Regions from separate parts of the Homo sapiens genome. Here region 2 is linked to region 1. Evidence: promoter capture Hi-C in 16 types of primary human blood cells and fetal thymus (Javierre and others, 2016). All regions are on one chromosome and are shown on one strand. The core of a region is centred on a gene start or on the middle of the fragment in contact, and the rest is flanking DNA. Distances in the headings are between cores, read along the strand shown.

Region 1 (3,283 bases), core at 291-2,790:
GGCCACCAACCCCCGACCTCCACTGCCACCCTGTGACCCTCTGCCCAGTCAGGTTACACACACTGCCCAGAGGAACTGAGAGAGGCCACTTCGCTTTTCATTCTGAGCCACTTCCCTCATTCCACAGGCTCCTGGGGCATGTCACCTCCATGCCACTGCCATGCTACACCAACCCCACATCACTCCTAGGGAAGCAGGAAGCATCTCACCACAGGGCCCCAACCCATAGTCATGGGCAGCGAGATCCCCTAGCCTAGCCCAGCCCCGAAGGGCCTAGACCCAGACCCCCTCATCCCACCTCCCATCAGGTGGACAAGTCAGCACTAAGGGCTGTCTTCCCTCCCCCACCAAGCCTTCATTTCCCTTCCTGGGACAAGCCCAGCACTCTAACTCTCAGACTGGGCGAGCCCAGCAGCCTCCCCTCCCTGAAGGAGAATCTCCATATTGTTCTCTCCAGCCTAAGAGAATCCCTGGCCTAAGGTAACATTTTCAGGGGCCAGGAGAACCAGAGCCTGGGAGCAGCCCCGTGTAGGAAGGAACAGACACAGCAGAGAGAGGGCTGCAGGGTGCAGCAGTGTCTTCCCCTTCCCTTGCTGACAGGCCTGCATCGGGGAGCAATGCTGAGCCCAGCAAGGGGTAGCAGAAGTCAAATCAGCTCCTTCCCTGGGAGCAGAAGCCTCTAGTTCTCACTTAGGTCCAGGGGCCTTTTGTGGCTGCCCCCACAGCAGCGCAGGGGAGAGCAAGGCTTCCCTGGACAGGATGATGCCCAGTGGAGGGGGTGAAGGAGCTGGGTCTGAGCGCCCTGCCGGAGCAAGGGCAAGACATCTGTGCTGGGAGCGGGGACGAGCTCACCTCTCCTCCTAGCCTGCCTCAGCTCTGGGGTGCACTTTCCTCCTCTTCTCTTGGGGGTTTGAAGGAGAAGAGAAGCAGACCCAAATAAACTACCTCCAGTGACCACCCAGGCAGCTCACCCACTTCTCACACCTAGAACCAAGGCTTAGCCCTTTAGCTGGGGACATACACCCTTAATCCCAGGTTTGTTTATCCAAGCAGTGGTGTCAGCTGCCTGGCCAAACCACACAGGCGCCTGGATCCTAGGAGACATAAACCAATCCTCCCACCCAAGCAAAGCCCCGTAGCAGCCCGGCCCCCACCACCTGGTGCTCCAGCAGCTGAGGCCCCTGCCCCACTTACATCATCCCATTTGATGAAGCGCTCCCCTTGGCTCAGATAGGCCTTCACCTTGGGGGGCAGCAGGACAGGGTTGAGCAGAGACATGGTGCCAAGCGTTCCTCTTTGCAGAATCTCAGCAGACACAGGCAGGCAGAAGGGCAGGAAGGAGGCCAGCCAGGAGGGGGAGCCAAGCTGGGCTCAAATGGCACCCATCCCCGAGCTGCTCCAGAAATCTAGTTGCTCTTATAGCCCCTGGGGTGGCCCTGGCTGAGTGCAGGACTGAGCTGTAGCCAGAGGCCCATCTGCCTTGTAAATCACCCTCCTCCCACCCGCCCTGCCTGCCATGGGGGCCTGTGGTCACTGCTTCTGCCCAAGGAGGCTGAAGCAGGAAGCCCCCGCCTCTTCTGGAGGCCCCCGCCCCCACCCCCAGCCCCACCCTGTGCCTCTCAGCACTTCCTGCTCTGGGCTTCCTTCTCTGCGCTGCTCACAGCGGAGACGTGGTCATGAGGCCGGGTCGCCTTGGAGCCAGGGCCTCTCAGTCCCTGTGGTGGTCTCTGGTCAGATTTGGCCCAGGAGGGCTGGAGAAGGACGACATGGAGACCAGCTGGGGAGACTGCTGCCCAGGCCTGGACTGAGGGAAGGCACAGGGAGCTCACTAGGAGAAAGGACCTCCTCAGGGGAAGGGTCCAGAGCATGGGCATCTGACCCCAAAGGTTGGGAGCACCGTAGAGGCAGGGGTGGGGTGGGGACAGGGCCCAGCTGGAATGGAGTGTTTTGAATAAGCAAAGTTTGCTGAACACACGGCTCCTCTTTCTCAATGCTTCCTCCCCCATGAAAATGAGGTGCACCTGCCGGGCGGGCGGGTGCGGTGGCTCACGCCTGTAATCCTAGCACTTTGGGAGGCCGAGGCGGGCGGATCACGAGGTCAGGAGATCGAGACCATCCTGGCTAACACGGTGAAACCCTGTCTCTACTAAAAATGCAAAAAATTAGCTGGGCGTGGCAGCGGCGCCTGTAGTCCCAGCTACTCGGGAGGCTGAGGCAGGAGAATGGCATGAACCCAGGAGGCGGAGCTTGCAATGAGCCGAGATGGCGCCACTGCACTCCAGCCTGGGCGACAGAGCAAGACTCCATCTCGAAAAAAATAAAAAAAGAAAGAAAATGAGGGGCACATGAGGCAAGGCAATCACTCCCCTCACCCACCTCACCAGACTCCCACCTCTGGGCCTCTGGGACTGCCTGAGGCCTGGACCCCCACTGAGCAGCCCTAGCCCCTGCCTCCACTGCGCTCTCCTCTCTCCTCCGTGTGCCCGCCTCTGCTGTGTACCCCAGCCTGCAGCGGGGCTGGGGCGGAGGGATGGCTGCTCTGGTTGGCCAGGCTCAGCCCCAGCTGCTCAGGTGCCTGACCCACACTCTGCCCCAGGCCCAGGGAGTTCAGCACCAGTCCAGCTCAGCCCAGCCCACTTCCTCTTGCCTAATCTGCTCCTCTTATCGCCCTTCTTAGCCCAGCCTGGGAGGCAGGGAGCTCTACCCAAGACTTCCTTCCCCTCTGGGGCCTGGCCTTTTGCCCTGGGTCACCCCCCCATGGGGCTTTGCATACCCCCAACAACGGTAAGACCCTCACCCAGGCCCTAGAATTGTCGCGGCTGGAGGTCTGGTCCAGGGCAGGGTGGAGGGTGAGGGAGGACACTCTTCATGCGGAATTAAGATAATAAACTGCCCAGTGGAGGCTGGAGCTAAGGGAATTCCCAGCACAGAAATAATCTGCAGAAGAGCAATTCTAGGGCCGGGGGATGGAGCCGGAGCAGGGCCTGACCAAGCCTCTGGAAATGGTAACAATTCAGAGGACTCTTCTTCCTCGTTTCCCCCAGTCCCTTAGCGTCATCTCTCCTCTCTCCCTCCCTCCAGTCTGGGGCCCTTCTGGGGGCCCCTCTGGCAGCCCATGCTGTTCTGGGTTCCTCCCTGGGATCAGGTTCCCTCGATATCTGTTTGAATGGATTTTGCAAGGGAAATCCCTGTCCCTTCCCAAAGCCCCTGCACCTGTCACCTGCGGCTGCCCTGGTCCCGGCACCCAAGTCCCTCCCTTTCATCTGTCCTGTAGCCATCAGCC
Region 2 (3,211 bases), core at 538-3,037, 370 kb before region 1:
ATCATTTAAAACATAGTTCTAACTTCATCTGCTTTTTTTTTTTTTCTTTTTGAGACAGGGTCTTGCTCTGTCTCCCAAGCTGGAGTGCAGAGGCATGACCACGGCTCACTGCAGCTTATTCTCAAGCAATCCTTCTGCCTCAGCCTGTCAAGTACCTGGGACTACAGGCACATGCCACTACACCTGGTTAATTTTTTTAATTTTTTGTAGAGACAGAGTCTTGCTCTGTTGCCCGGGCTGGTATCAAGTTCCTGAGCTCATGCAATCCTCTCACCTTGGCCTCTGAAAGTGCTGGGATTACAGGTGTGGGCCACCGCGCCTGGCCTCTTCATCTGCTTTTAACTTTGGCATTTCACAACATCTGCTCTATCTACACATCCAGGATTTCCTCAAGAAATACCATCTTCTGGAGCTATCAGGACAAAATATTCTCTCTCAAACTCAGGGTGCTTCTTCCTTCATTAAATATTTGTTTTAGGCATTAGGAATACAGCTGTGGGCAAAACAGACAAAAATCCTTGCCCTCAGGGAGCTTACTTTTCTAATGCTTAATAATATGAAGTTATTTTTAACCTGAAATGGTAAAAATATAAATTATTCCCCTTAACATGACAGAGAAGTTGGTGACTGGGGAACTTCTATCTTCCCAAACCTTGAGAATCAGGAAGTAGGCCCAAGAAGCAGCCAAAATAGGTGTCTCAAAGTGTACATGGGACTCAACACAAAGCTCCTAAGGCTTCATTCTGAACTAGTTTGTTTACTTTATACAAGCTTAGTTGTCTGCTCCTAGGGCTGCAGAAAAATGGAAGAGAAAAAGCAACTTCTTTTAGGTAGGGATATTGATAACCTCAAGAATTTATAGCTGGTGGCTTTCATAACAAGATGGAATACTAGACAAACCAAAGCAAAAACTATAGAAGGCAGGCAGAAGAATTTAAATAGCTGTCTGTGGCCTATTGTACACCGGGCAAATGGCCTCAACACATTCATAGGACTGGCAGGCAAATAATTGATGGTCTCAAGGATGAATCAGAGTTTAGTCATTCAACAAGCACTTATTATCACCTGCTATTTGCCAGGGAAAAGTGATGCAGGTCCAAAATCCTTTATCCAAAACTCTTTATTGAGAGGGAGTTTCTCTCTGTCGCCCGGGCTGGAGTGCGGTGGAGCAATCTCGGCTCACTGCAACCTCCACCTCCCAGGTTCAAGCGATTCTTGTGCCTCAGCCTCCTGAGCAGCTGGGATTACAGGTACCCGCCTCCACACCTGGCTAATTTTTGTATTTTTAGTAGAGATGGAGTTTCATTATGTTGGCCAGGCTGGTCTCGAATTCCTGACCTCAAGTCCTCCCGCCTCGCCTCCCAAAGTCCTGGGATTACAGGTGTGAGCCACCGTGCCCAGCCTTTTATCCAAAACTCTTGAGACTTGATGGGTTTCAGAATTCAGAAGTGCTTCTGTTCACGTTTATGTGTGCACATTCCACACATTACCTAATACCTTCCTCAGTGTCTGGGGCAGCATCGAAAATCAAACACAATGAAACATAGAAATACTCAAATTTCACACTGAACAAATAAACACTATAACTAACCTCATGTCAGTTCAGGCTAAATTTGCTGCCAATAAATTCAGGTTAGATTTTTTTTTCAACTTCTTTTAGTGGGGATGTGTTGTAATATAAATTTCAGTTTAGTAGCATATGTATATCATTTATAAATAACATTTTGAGGTGCATGCTAAAAACTTTTGCATTTGTAAAAAGTTTAGACACTGCTAGTTTAAAGTATCTATAATTTATAGATAGTTACAAATTACTAACTTATTTTGGCTAGCTTTCCACAGCAGCAAAAGGTCTGCTCATTTATAATTTGATAGCTTTTGGAAACATCCCTCCAAAAAACTTGCTTCAATCCCTGGATCCCCCAGTAGTGTATGGTGGTGTTTGTTTTCCTTTATCTTCAACAATACTATATATGTTAGACTTTTTCATCTTTGCCACATAAATGAAACATATCTCATTTTAATTTTTATTTATTTATAAATTATCTAGAACACCTTTGTTTACAAACCATTGATTTTTCTTTTTCTGTGAACTGCTCATACTCTGGTTTATTTTTCTACTCTGTGGTCCATTTTCTTGTTTATTTGTAAGAGCTAAATATCTTAAGAAAACTAGCATTTTGGGTCATATAATGCATATATTTTTCTCCTAATTATATGCATTTATTTACGTAATTTATGTGATTTAAAAAATGTTGATAGAGTCAAAATGACCTTTTTTTTCTTTTATGGTCCCTGTGGGTTTTTTTTCCCCCTCTGTTCCAATGTTACTAAAAACCAAATTCGTCAAAGTTTACTTTTAACTTGTTCATGACTTCGTTTTTAAATTTTCATCAAATAAAGATATAAGTAGGTTTTTTTTTTTAAGTTCTTCGTTCCATCAAAGTACGGGCCTAGGCCACCTCCCCGTGTGCATCCCTCCTCCTCCAGCTAGGCAGCTAGACAAATATAGGCAATTGAATTTTTCAGTGTCTTCCACTCATTTGAAATGCCATTCCTACAAGCCCAGTGCCTGGTAAAACAAACAAAAAACTTTCAAAAATTGTTACTGAATGAAATAATTCTCAAATGTATTTCAAGTCTCTTTTTTTCCTTGCCTGGAATGCTTGGTCTCTTGGCTTGTCTCAGCTTCAATGCTACATCCTCAGATAGTTCTTCTTTGATAACCACATTTAAGTATATACCCTCACACCCCAAGTCGTTTGTTAAGGAGAGCACCACGTCATCTCTTCAACGGCACTCTCTAAGCTTGTACTTATGTGTTTATTATGTTTGTTTTCCCCCACCAGACTGAAGTTCCATGAGAGCTGGAACCATATCTGTGTTCTCACCTCCGTGGACTAAGCACAGTGCCTGACACAGAGTCAGTGCTTAGCAAATATGGGTGATGGATGTGTGATGGGTGAATGAGTGGATGAAAGACCTGTGGACCAAAGAGTGCTTAACCCTTCCCCAGACCACATTCGCAGAATTATGCTTTATGGAAGGACCCACACATTTATCAAGGATTATTATAAAGCCATATAAGAACTGATCTTACAAATTTTGTACACATAGTAGAAGAGTACAGTGTTTATTATATGGTACTCCTTGTAAGGTTCACGTTATAAATTTCTGTTAGAATTTAGTATTATAAGTACTTTGCTTCCCT

Evidence for each region. Contacts are between HindIII fragments. The CHiCAGO score rates a contact against its expected background, and 5 or more counts as called.
Region 2: a contact is called between a fragment that was not itself captured here and the fragment with the promoter of PLCB2 in region 1, in 2 of 17 cell types (fetal thymus and activated CD4 T cells). The highest score is 5.4, in fetal thymus.

What each region holds. Positions count from the first base shown.
Region 1 is chr15:40,306,395-40,309,677 of GRCh38, forward strand. PLCB2 (phospholipase C beta 2) reads right to left here and starts at 1,541. Exons shown (of 32, transcript NM_004573.3): 1 at 1,195-1,541. The coding sequence starts at 1,278. The HindIII fragment of the contact is 15,701 bases long and covers 1-3,283 here.
Region 2 is chr15:39,935,306-39,938,516 of GRCh38, forward strand. All of the region lies in intron 1 of EIF2AK4 (eukaryotic translation initiation factor 2 alpha kinase 4), which reads left to right. Among named protein-coding and RNA genes, the nearest start is that of EIF2AK4, 2.8 kb to the left of the region's middle. The HindIII fragment of the contact is 2,037 bases long and covers 770-2,806 here.